Regions from separate parts of the Homo sapiens genome. Here region 1 is linked to region 2. Evidence: promoter capture Hi-C in 16 types of primary human blood cells and fetal thymus (Javierre and others, 2016). All regions are on one chromosome and are shown on one strand. The core of a region is centred on a gene start or on the middle of the fragment in contact, and the rest is flanking DNA. Distances in the headings are between cores, read along the strand shown. Region 1 overlaps CHD9 (chromodomain helicase DNA binding protein 9). Region 2 holds the start of CYLD (CYLD lysine 63 deubiquitinase).

What was found. The method cuts DNA at HindIII sites, captures the fragments that hold promoters and counts their contacts. A CHiCAGO score of 5 or more calls a contact.
Region 1: a contact is called between a fragment that was not itself captured here and the fragment with the promoter of CYLD in region 2, in 1 of 17 cell types (M0 macrophages). The highest score is 8.2, in M0 macrophages.

The regions. Positions count from the first base shown.
Region 1 is chr16:53,056,222-53,062,517 of GRCh38, forward strand. All of the region lies in intron 1 of CHD9 (chromodomain helicase DNA binding protein 9), which reads left to right. Among named protein-coding and RNA genes, the nearest start is that of CHD9, 4.4 kb to the left of the region's middle. RefSeq lists enhancers at 1,808-1,857, 5,155-5,214, 5,325-5,374, 5,635-5,994 and a silencer at 4,404-4,630. The HindIII fragment of the contact is 1,942 bases long and covers 1,798-3,739 here.
Region 2 is chr16:50,738,769-50,744,866 of GRCh38, forward strand. It overlaps CYLD (CYLD lysine 63 deubiquitinase), which reads left to right and starts at 3,318. Exons shown (of 19, transcript NM_001378743.1): 1 at 3,318-3,356; 2 at 3,994-4,073. It overlaps CYLD-AS1 (CYLD antisense RNA 1), which reads right to left and starts at 3,979. Exons shown (of 7, transcript NR_184279.1): 1 at 3,903-3,979; 2 at 2,560-2,636; 3 at 1,912-2,026. It overlaps MIR3181 (microRNA 3181), which reads left to right and starts at 3,537; the gene lies at 3,537-3,609. RefSeq lists a silencer at 3,133-3,732 and an enhancer at 3,973-4,072. The HindIII fragment of the contact is 2,791 bases long and covers 2,848-5,638 here.

The DNA of each region.
Region 1 (6,296 bases), core at 1,519-4,018, 2.3 Mb after region 2:
CTAACATGGGCATAGATTCCCCCCCATAGGCAGCCCTTCCTTTGTGACCTTGGAAACTCACTGAACCATCCTCAGCTTCAGTTTTTGTATCTGCAAAATGGGTGTGAAAATCGGGTTGCCTTGGGAATTATTCACAATAAAAGCTACTGTTTACTAAGGGTTCACCCTATGCTAGAGGCTTTCTGTGCAGGGCCAAGTTAGACTCCTGACCATAACTTCCACGGTAGAACTATGAATACTGCATTTGATAGCCAAGGAAACTGAGGCTCAGAGAGGCCAATGATCTTGCTCGAAGTTATATAATTAATTAATAAGAAGCATGTCCCATATTTGAACCCAGGCAGTCTGCTCTTGAGCTCAGGTGCAAAAGAACAATACTCTGCTGTTTCCCTTGTTGACCAGGACAGCGTGCACGGGGCAGGCGCGTGGTGTGTCTTCACAAACACTAGCTATCACTGCTGTGAGCTGAGCACTTCCACTGAATTGACTCATTCGCTCATTGGAAATACATTTATTATTGAGAGCCTACTGTGGGCCAGGCAGTTTTCCAGATGCTAGAGATAAAATATGAGTAAGACAGAATTCAGCCAGCCCCGAATGAGAGAAACAGGAAGAAAGTGCAGTAGATTCTCATTATTCACAAGTTCTAAATTTGCAAATTCTTCCCTGTAATCCCAGCACTTTGAGAGGCTGAGGCAGGAGGATCGCTTGAGGCTAGGAGTTTCAGATCAGCCTGTGCAACAGAGCAAGGCCCTGTTTGCTTAAAAATTATACACATTGAATAATTCTTAAAAAAAATTTGTTTGTGGCCAGGCATGGTGGCTCATGCATATAATCCCAGTACTTTGGGAAGCTGAGGCAGAAAGATTACTTGAGGCTAGGAGTTCCAGATCAGCCTGGGTAACACAGTAAGACCCTATATCTTTATTTTAAAAATTATATAATTAAAGAATTTTTAAAAAAATATGTTTGTGGCCGGGTGTGGTGGCTCACACCTGTAATCCCAGCACTTTGGGAGACTGAGGTGTGAGGTTAGGAGTTTGAATTTAGGAGTTTGACACCAGCCTAATCACTTGAGCTAAGGAGTTTGAGACCAGCCTGGACAGCATAGAGAGACCTTGGCTCATTTAAAAAAAAAAAGAGGAAAAAAGGCCGGGTGCAGTGGCTCATGCCTGTAATCCCAGCACTTTGGGAGGCCGAGGTGGGTGGATACCTGAGGTCAAGAGTTCGAGACCAGCCTGGCCAACATGGCAAAACCCCGTCTCTACTAAAAATTCAAAAAATTAGCTGGGCGTGGTGGCAAGAGCCCGTAATCCCAGCTGCTTGGGAGGCTGAGGCAGGAGAATTGCTTGAACCTGGGAGGTGGAAGTTGCAGTGAGCCAAGATCACGCCATTGTACTCCAGCCTGGGCAACAACAGCGAAACTCCATCTCAAAAAAAAAAAAGAAAGAAAAAAGAAAAATAATGTCTGCGTAACTTCCAAATCAATATCCATGACACTTTCACAGTCATATATGGATGCACGTAGAATAGTGAAAAAGTTGAGTCACCCAACGTGCACATTTCCAGCCAAGGGCAAACAGGAGGACACGCTGCTTTCTGGTTTCAGCTCTTGTGCTATAAACAAGTGTCCCTTTTGTGGTGTACTTAGTGCCACATTTTTTGCATGTTTGTGTGTTTTTGTTTGTGATGTCGCTGTTTGAAATGGCCCCAAGTGTACAGTTGACGTGCTGTCTAGTGTTCCTAAGTATGAGAAGGCTGCGATGTGCCTTACAGAGAAAGCTTGTCTGTTAGGTAAGCTTCGTTCAGGCATGAGTTATAGTGCAGTTGGCTGAGTTCAGTGTTAATGAATAATATGTATATATATCAACAATATATATCAAATAAGGTGTCTTTTGTCTTTGTTTTTGTTTTTTTGAGATGGAGTCTCACTCTGTCTCCCAGGCTGGAGTGCAGTGGCACGATGTCAGCTCACTGCAGTCTCCACCTCTGGAGTTCAAGCGATTCTCCTGCCTCAGCCTCCCATGTAGCTGGTACTACAGGCACATGCCACCACGCCCAGCTAATTTTTGTATTTTTAGTAGAGACGAGGTTTCACCATGTTGCCCAGGCTGGTCTCGAGCTCCCGACCTCAGGTGATCACCCACTTTGGCCTCCAAAGTGCTAGGATTACAGGCTCAAGCCACAGCACCTGGCCTATAAGGTATCTTTAAACAGAAACACACATAAACAAAGGTTATGCATTGATCTGCCAGGCAGAAGGTGGGGTTAGAAAAAGATGTTTCTGGCAGAAAGGTCAGCATGTACAGAGATAGCCAAGAGCTTGGCAAGGCCAGGGGACTCAAGGAGAGCCAGTGGGCAGGGAGTGTGGTGGTGAAAGGGAGAGAGGCTGGGGCCAGGCGGCTCAGTGTCTTGTGGGCAGCTCTCATTTCATCCGATTAGCACGGTAATCCTGGCAGGTTGGACAGGATCATTTCCGCCTTTGAGAGATGATGAAATTGACGTTCCATGCTGTTAAATGACTTGCCCAAAGTTGCACTGCTGGTAAGCAGCAACACCCCCCACCCTCCAACTTAATCTAATGTTGACCAGACATTTGGGTTTTTTGTTTTGTTTTGTTTTGTTGGTTTTTGGTTTCTTTTGTTGTTGTTTTTAAGACACAGGGTCTTGCTCTGTCACCCATGCCTCCTGTAGTGGTATGATCATAGCTACTGCAGCCTCAACCTCCTGAGCTCGAGGGATCCTCCCACCCAGCCAAGTAGCTGGGGCTACAGGTGCACACCATCATGCCCAGCTAATTTTTTAAGTAGGGTCTTACTGTGTTGCCTAGGCTGGTCTCCAACTCCTAGACTCAAGTGTTTCTCCTGCCTTGGCCTCTCAAAGCACTGAGATTACAAGCATGATCTACCTTACCTGGCCAACATTTGGGTATTGATCAGAAATCTCAGGACGTGGGCTGGAGGTTTGGTTTGTTCTGGGGAGAAATCAGTAACTAAGTGGTGGTGAAAGTGATCAAGCGTCGATGAAACCACGTGGGATAGTGGCAGGGTGTGGAGAAGAAAATTTCTCATGTCCTTTAAAAAAGAAAAATATTTCTGGTGGCTGGGCACAGTGGCATATGCCTGTAATCCCAGCACTTTGGGAAGCAGAAGTGGGAGGAATGCTTGAGGCCAAGAGTTCAAGACTAGCCTGGGCAACATAGTGAGACCCCCACCTCTATCTTTAACAACAAGAAAAATGGAAAAAAAATTTAGTCAAAAAATATTACTGGTATAAAGACATGAATTCCTCTGTGAAAGAGTCTTAGGTACTTGCAGAGGGTGGGAGTAATGACCATGGTCATAAAGATGTGGCAAAAGGAAATGTGAGGTTCTGATTCAAACTGCCCCCAAATACTAGGTCTGGGCATCGGCCTCCCCACTCATGGGGCAGCCAGGCCTCAATCTGCCTCTTGTCTCTGCAGGATAATGACCGTGAACAGGCATCAGCAAACTTTTTCTGTAAAGGTCCAGAGAGTAAATATTTTGAGCTTTATGGACCATAGGGTTTCAGTTGCAACTGCAGTAAATTCTCAATTAATGTCCTCGTTAGGTTCTTAGAAACTGCAACTTTAAGCGAAATGACGTACAGTAAGTCCAAGTAACGTCGTTTCTTGTAATGTTGATGAGAAACTGCCACTGTAGAGTAAAAGCAGCCGTAGATGGTATGTAAACAAATGAGTATATCTGGGTTCCAATAAAGCTTTATGGACACTGAAGTTTTGAATTTCACATAATTTTTCTGTGTCACAAAATATTATTCTTTAAACATTTTTTTCAACCATTTAAAAATGTAAAAGCTGGCCAGGCATGGTGGCTCATATCTGTGATCCCAGGACTTTGGAAGACCAAGGAGGGAGGATTGCTTGGGGCCAGGAGTTCAAGACCAGCCTGGGCAACATAGCAAGACCCCCATCTCTACAAACAAACAAACAAATAAATAATGTAAAAACCATTCTTAGCTCACAGGCTATACAAAAACAGGCAGTAGGCTGGATGTGGCCTGTGGGCTGTAGTTTGCTGACTCCTGATCCCGAATAATGAGACCTGAGGATCAGAAGGATACTAGGTAGGTTGGGTGCAGTGGCTCATGCCTGTAGCCCCAGCACTTTGTGAAGCTGAGGCAGGAGGATTGCTTGAGGCCAGGAGTTCAAGGTCAGCCTGGGCAACATAGTGAGACCTCATTTCTATTTTAAAAATTTTAAAAATTAGCTGGGGCCTGGATTGGTGGCTCACACCTGTAATTCCAGAACTTTGGGGGGCTGAGGTGGGAGGATTACTTGAGTCTAGAAGTTCCAGACCAGCCTGGGCAACATAGCAAGACCCCATATCTACAAAAAAATGAAAAATTAGCCAGGTGTGGTGGTGCACCTGTAGTCCCAGCTACTCAGGAGGCTGAGGTAAGCGAATCAATTGAGCTGAGGAGTTTGAGGTTGCAATGAGCCATGATCATGCCACTGCGCTCCAGCCTGGGCAACTGAGGGGGACCCTGTCTCAAAAAACAAACGAAAATTAGCTGGGCATGGTGGCATGCACCTGCAGCCCCAGCTACTTGGGAAGCTGACGGGGGAGGATCACTTCAGACCAGGAGTTTGAGACTATAGTGAGCCATGATTGCACCACCGCACTCCAGCCTAGGTGACAGGGCAAGATGTTGTCTCTTTTTTTTTTTTTTTTTTTTTTTGAGACGGAGTTTCACTCTTTTGCCCAGGCTGAAGTGAAATGGCATGATCTCAGCTCACTGCAACCTCCGCCCCCCCGGGTTCAAGCGATTCTCCTGCCTCAGTTTCCCAAGTAGCTGGAATTATAGGTGCCCACTGCCATGCCTGGCTAATTTTTGTGTATTTAGTGGAGATGGGGTTTCGCCATGTTGGCCAGGCTGGTCTCGAACTCCTGACCTCAGGTGATTCACCCGCCTTGGCCTCCCAAAGTGCTAGGATTACAGGCATGAGCCACCTCGCCTGGCCAAGATGCTGTCTCTTTAAAACAAAAAAACAAACAAAAAAGACAGACACACAAAAGGAATACTAAGTGTTCATCTGATTTGAGTCTTTACCTGACCTGTGAATCTCCATTGAACATTGTCAGCCATTTCTTGAGTCCTCAGTAAGATGGAACTTCACATCTCACTGGGCAACTCATTCCACTGACAGAAGTTTAAAGCTGTGTCATAGTTGTAGTTTCCCCCAAAGCAGATCACGAGAAAAGGATTCAGGTGCCAGAAATGTATTTCGGAAATGATCCCAGGAAGCCCAGTGAGAGTGAAATTAACCGAGAAAGGGAGAAAAGCCAATAAAAAAGGTGTTGATGAGTGAGTTACCACTGGGCAATTGGGTCTCCATCCCTCAGGGACCCTTAGCGAGACTATAGAAAATATTTCAGAAGTGTCCCACGAAAAGGCAGGGAGACTGGGGTATATCCTCGACTCTCATACCTCATTATTGAGGGTTGTCTTGCTAACTGTCTGCTGTGCACACCCTGAAGCCAGAAAATAACTTAAAGCAGAAGTGAAAGGTAGCCCAGGGCATCTGGAAATGTCTGCAGGTAACCTCGGGTGAGCTGAGGAGTATGGGTGGGGCACCCATAGTGTCTCCAACAAAGTGTTTCTGACTTTGCTTTCTAAGATGTGCAACTCATACCACAAGGGGTCTTGTGAGATGGCTTTGGTGTGGCACAGAGAGAGACATGGTACCCAAGAGCACAAAGTCTCAGAATGGGAAAGGGATTTTTCCCTTTTGAGCTGTCTCTTTGATCCTGCTCTGCCCGCCTCTCACCCCTGGGGCTGCCCTCTCTCCCCAGAGCAGGTGCTCCACCCACGCTGGCCTTTCACTTCCTCCAACTTGTGGGACTGGGACTCTTGCTTCTGACTGCAGCCAACAGAAGTCTGGGCAAAGTACTAGAATGCTACTGTAACACTTGATTGTCTCCTCTTTCATTGGAAAGACAGCAGTCCTCCAGTTCAGGGCATTTAAGAGGCAACAGTAAGTGTGACCATTTAATAACATTGTTAAAACTGTAACAATCTAATAACATTGTTTGCTGTTATGTTTATCTTTACAGTTTCCACCTGTACATGGCTTTTCATGTATGGTAGTAATATAACGTTTCCCTTAAAATAAATGTATATAAATCGTGTGTCCATTTAAAGAAAAATATTAAATAAGAGTATCAATGGTATGAGGATAGAATAAAATATAATAGGCCAGGTGCAGTGGCTCATGCCTGTAATCCTAATACTTTGGGAGGTACACGCAGGGA
Region 2 (6,098 bases), core at 2,068-4,567:
ATCACTTGAAGCCAGGAGTTCAAGACCAGCCTGGGCAACATGGTGAGACCCTCATCTCTACTCAAAAGAGAAAAGTTAGCTGGGCATGGTGGTGCGTACCTGTAGTCTCAGCTGCTCAGGAGACTGAGGTGGGAGGATCACTTGAGCCCAGGAGACGGGGGCTGCAGTGAGCTATGATTGTGCCACTGTACTCCAGCCTAGGCAACAGAGTGAGACCCCATCTCAAACAAAAAACAAAAAACAAAAAAAGAACCAGTGTTATGTTCCCTGCAAAACCCTTCACAACTTCCCATTGCTCTTGGGATGGAGAACAACCCCTGTCCTTGGCTCCCAAGGCTCTTTTGTGCCTTCATTGTCTGCGCTCTGCCTCTTCCAGTTTCTTCAACAGGTCATGCACTTTCCTGTTTCCTATTTCTGGAGTGTTCCCCCTCACTCCTGCCTGCCAGTTATCTTTCCCATCTCATCTCAAAGGTGACTTCCTCAAACAGGCCTTCCCTGAGTGGCCAACCTCCCTTTAGGCATGCTCAGAGAGATTCTTCTTCTGAGGCTTACCACAGCCATAATTAAGTAAGTGATCATCTAATGAGTATTTTAGTTTGCCTTTTTTTTTTTTTTTTTTTTTGCCAGAGGGAGTGTGGCATCTCTCTTGTACACTGCTATGTTTCCTGGAACCTGCTCAGTAACACAACCGCTAGTTCCATGAACCCAGGACCAGGCTGGATGGAAGAGGCTGTGGGGTGGTGGATTGAGAGAGGTCATTAGTGAGGGCTGGAGCCCTCTGTGAAGACATGTCTGTAAAGGACTTTGACTAGGTCCTCCATGAAGGGAGGATTTGGAAGGCAGAGATGATGAGCATTTCAGTTGGGGAATCCATTTTAACAGAGGTGGAAAGAGTCTTGGCTTGGAATCAGGGTCTCGGCCCATCTCCTGAGTGACAGGGGCTTGTAATTTACTGTCTTTGGGCCTTCATCTACTACCTGTAAAATGAGAGGCTGGTTCACCAAGGACTGCAAATAATAGCACCATGACACTATCTCCCCATCTTATCCCCTGGCAGATATCTCTCTTCCCGGTGAGCCTGAATATAAGTTCAGAATTAGCTTTAACGCAATGTTCTAAGCAGCCATTCCCAATTGATAGGAAATGATAATTGAGATAAGCCCCATTTGTCAGGCTTGACTTGGATGAAGATCCCTTAGATGAAGTCAGGCCCCGGCACTGATTCAGTGAACGTATGACAGGACAGAGCCTGGGGACGAAAGCCCTATGGAAGTAGAGACCTCAGCAGCACCAAACACCATCAACAGAAAGGACACAAAAATAGGCCGGGCACATTGGCTCATGCCTGTAATCCCAGCACTTTGGGAGGCTGACGCAGGCAGATCACTTGAGGTCAGGAGTTTGAGACCAGCCTGGTCAATATGGTGAAACCTTGTCTCTACTAAAAATACAAAAATTAGCTGGGTGTGGTGGCAGGCACCTGTAATCCCAGCTACTTGGGAGGCTGAGGCAGGAGAATTGCTTGAACCTGGGAGGCGGAGGTTGCAGTGAGCTGAGATCGCACCATTGCACTCCAGCCTAGGCAACAGAGCAAGACTCTGTCTCAAAACAAAGAAACAAACAAACAAACACCCCAGCAACAACAACAACAAAAACAAAAAGAAGGGACATGAAAATATTCTAGTCCAGAGTGGCAAACTCAGATGCCTTAAGGGACCAGTGGATGTAGATCGTGCAGATAAGAGAAGTGGTCCCAGTGGTAACATGAGAATGTTTGCCTTGCCTAAAAGGACCCCAAATCTCTCTCCTTCACATTCTTTTCTCCTTCCTCCTTATCGTATGGGTTAGGCAAAAACAAATTTCAGCTGAAATTTTCTTCCAGACAGTTGGACTGTGACCTCTGAGTCCTACCAGCTTTGTTGGAGAATCCAGATGTAGATGAGAACGGTGTTGCCTAAGGCCACACTTCAAGCCAGGCCCGTTGATTTCCAACTTATGGCTTCCTACAGCAGTGTGGTCATGAAGCCTGGAAAACAGGAAGATAGGAGTGACAAAAGAGGGACAGGAGTAGAATGAGGCTTAGGTTTTCAAAAGATGCTCATTTCATTTTGGATGACTATGGCAAGGAAGAGTGGTGGCCTGTCTACTGCTACTGTTAGTCATCACTCATGTGACTGTTTTTATGTATTCATTGGTTTAAATTCCCTGGATCTCCAGAAACATGTCACTTTCCACTGGGGGAAATTTGTGTCATGATTAAAAACACACACACACACACACACACACACACACACACCCCTCCTCCTTTCTCAGTGTTAATCACCTTCTCCTATAATTAGCACTTAAAATGTCAAAGGAGAAGAAATTAATTAACAGGAGTATCCAGTGCAGCAAGGCTCTAGGACTGATTATAAAAAGCACTTCCTTAAATATTTTGAGTGCTTTTGGGAATCAGAAGCCTCCCTTCTAATTGAAAGATCCTTAACTACACCCTAAGTCCTGGCTGGTGGCCAGGGGTGCGGGGCTGAGTGAGGCGGCGTGTGGAAATCCCTTCTTCACCATCCTTGGGAAAATTCCCTCCAAACTGGGATAGGTGGCAACAGAGGTTCGGAAACAGCAAGCGTCCCAGGCTGAATCTGCGGAGGAGGAAGAGATGAACCTTTCCTGAGCTGGTACTGCGTGCCAGGAACTTTAGCTCGGTATTTTGCCACAATCCTGTAAGACAACCGATACTATGATCTCCATTTTACAGATGAGGACATTGAGGCTCAGCGTGGTTGTGACTTCCTCAGGTCACGCAGCCACTGAATGAAAGCGCCAAAGATTCAAACTGAGGTCTGATTCTAAAGCTTTGCTCTCTCACGGCATCCTGGAATCCTATTTCAACCTTCATCTGGACTCTTAACCCAGCCCAAACCTAAGCGTCTACAGTTTTGACAGCTGAGGCGGGAGCACGGGAGGCGGAGCTGGTGGCAGCGCAGCGCCCCGCCCCGGCTCCAGCATCAGCCAATGGTGACGCGGCACCCACAGCCTTTCGCCCAATCAGCTTGAGCTTCCCGCCTCCATCCGCCGCTCTTCTCTGCCCCGCCCCTTCGCTTTCCCTTTGGTTCCACCGAGCTTGACAGAGCGGAAAGTCCCTTCGGCCGGCGCCGGGCTGGCAGCCATTGGAGGAAGGTCTGTCACAGGGAGGCCCAATCACGGCCCGCTCAGGAGCGCAGCTCGGCCTACGATTGGCTAGCGCGGCGGCTGCCCCCTCCGCCCCCGCTCCCTCCCTCTTCCCTGTGCGGTTCGGAGGCGGGGCAGGTGGGGGCGGGCCCAGGTAGCAGGTTTGGCTGCGCGGGGGCCGCGCGTCGGAGGTAAATACTAGGGCGGTGGGTGTGGGGAGCCGGGGCCGGCCCGGGACGCGGGCTGGGGAGCCGGGGCGAGGGGCGACGCCCCGCCGCCCGAGGTTAGTGAATGAGCGGGCGGCTGGCGGCCGGCGGGCGGCCGGATCCCCTCGGCGCAGCCGCCTGGCCTCAGGGCGTCCGGAGCCGCCGCGGCGACCATCGGGCCCTCGGCGCCGGCCCGTTAGTTGCCCGGGCCCGAGCCGGCCGGGCCCGCGGGTTGCCGAGCCCGCTGACGTCAGCCCGGGTTTCCCCCCCCCACCGGGGCTTCCCCATCCCCCGAGGCTTCCCGGGAGGGCTGCGAGTCCGGGGAGCGTGCGGGGTCGCCACCATCGGGACCCCCAGAGGAGAGAGGACTTGGGGCGGGAGCCGCGCGGGACGCTGTCCCCCTCCCGCCCCCCACCCCATTTACAGATTGGGAGACTGAGGCACAGGCCGCTGGCGGGCCCCGACGGCCACGGTTGGCCTCAGGAGCCCGGGGCTGTGATTCCTACCGACCGCGCCGCGGGGCGTACGTACCGATCGATTTTGCGGGTGTTGGTGGCTCCCGTCCAGGAATGGCAGTCGGGGTTCTGGCCTTGTTAATGGCGTGTTCTGCTTTTTCTTTCAGTTTCCCCCTTTCTAGGGTGAGGATGGTTCTACACAGCCACCCGGAGTTCCTTAGTTGAAAGGTGCGCCCTGCTGTGACAGGTATTCTTTCTTTATGTTTTTCTTTCATGTTAACAATCGAGGGGGGTGGGGGGCGAATGGGGGGCGGGGGCGAAGTCATGAAATCTTCAGGAGATGGTGTTGAGTTTGGTACTCAGCTGGGTCAGCTGCCGGTTATTCATGTACTTGGCATCGTTTCTCTTCCACCCCTTGGCATTTGAATGTTTTAGGATAGTTGTCATCTTCCAGCCACCAAGCCTGTGGCCTTGCAGTCTCCCAGCCCCCATCATCCCTGCCACCTTCTTCTCCTCAATTTTTCCTGGAAAGTTTTATCCTTAGCTCAGCTAAGGAGCATGCCTACCTTGCTTTTGAATTCGGGCTAATTAGGGATCTTAATAAGATTGTTCATTTTGCAATCATTGGCTCTCAGAGAAGCACCCAGGCCTTGAGAGGGTGTTCGTTTGATTGTTGGCTTTCTACACACCCCCTCACGCCCCAAGTAGACTGAATGGCCTTAAGAATTTAGCCTCCCATTCCCCACTGAGCAGTAGGTGGATTTGAACTAGAACAGTATTAGGAGAAAATGATTTGCTGGAAATTCTTATTGAAGTAACACCCAGAACATTCTCTAATATTCTGCTGCAAAATTGTATAGTATTCTTGCAAATAAACCTTCCTCTGGGTGGTAACTTTTGTGAGAAGCAGATAAGGCTTGTTATATAAAGCACAACTAACATTAAGCAGCAATGATTTTTATAGTCTGGCACACCTAAACTGTGGTTTTGTTTGATTTAAGGAAGTCTCCAACACAGGGAGAGAGAAAGGAATAGTTATGTTGTTTATCAAACTATTAGTATTTTGTTCCTGATTTTCACACTATGATTTAAATTAGTTTTTTTTTCATTGGTTGTACAGAATTTATAAGCATCATACATGCTAGTTGAGGCTGTAGGAAGCTAGTATCAAATAAACCTCAAAACAACTTGGTTTCGTAATTGTGAAATTTTCCGTATTTGTTTCTTCTTATATGTATAACAATGAAGTGGTTTAGCATGATTTCATTTTATCTAGAGAATTACTGAAGTTTTAGGCAAAATTCATTAAATACTCCCAATTCCTGAGTCTTTTTCTCTTCTCTTTCTCTTGGTTTAATCCCTTAAACAGGAGGAGGAAATGCAATTTTGTTTTCACTGTTACCACTTGAGTCTTTCATTCATTTCTCTGTATTCAGTGCCTAGCATATGCCAGGCTCTCGTGTGGGCACTGGATAATATAAAAATGAAGGACTTGGGGAATTCACAGTTTGGCAGTGGAGTGGCTAGGTTTAACACTAGAGAGGCAGCAGTATTCCTTGTTCCAGTGGGAATATGCAGATGTGAGAGGCTCTTCTTTTCTTTTTTTTTTTTAACCTTATAAATCCCACTTGTATTAGGGACTGTGTACTTGTGACACAAATTAGTCATTGAGGAAAATTAAAACGGACTCAGTCTTTTTTCTGGCCACGGAATCTCTGTATCTCTATTCTTTAGCTGTTTAGAAATATAACAACTTTGTCTTTTAGTGAGAGATGTTCTCTTTTAAAAGGATGATCATTCTAGCTATCCAGAAGCTTTTGGAAAAAGGCCCACATGTCTTCTTTCTTTGGTGTTCAAGCTGACCTTCCTACCTCTTTGCCATTTATAATTAGGGGCAGAATTAAGTATTGTAAGTTTTATTCTAATTTAAATAGCTTCCTGTGGTTTTTAGAACAAGCAGGATATCTTTGGAGATGCAAAAAGCTCTTGAATTGGATCTGTCTTTGTGAGATCCTTATGAACAATATAACCTGATAACTTGAGAATCAGAAAAACACTGCATCTTCTGGATAAGTTAACCATTGTTAGTTTTCTGTAGCTACTGATGTTCATTTGTACTATATGTTGCCTTTCAGAATGTGGTAATTGTAATCTTTAACATTTTCATGTAAAACATATTTCCTGATCATCTTTCCATTGTCTTCATGGAAAATTGATAAATATTTGTGCCTTCCAACTCTCGTCTTGGTTGAATGACTTCATCTTAATACAA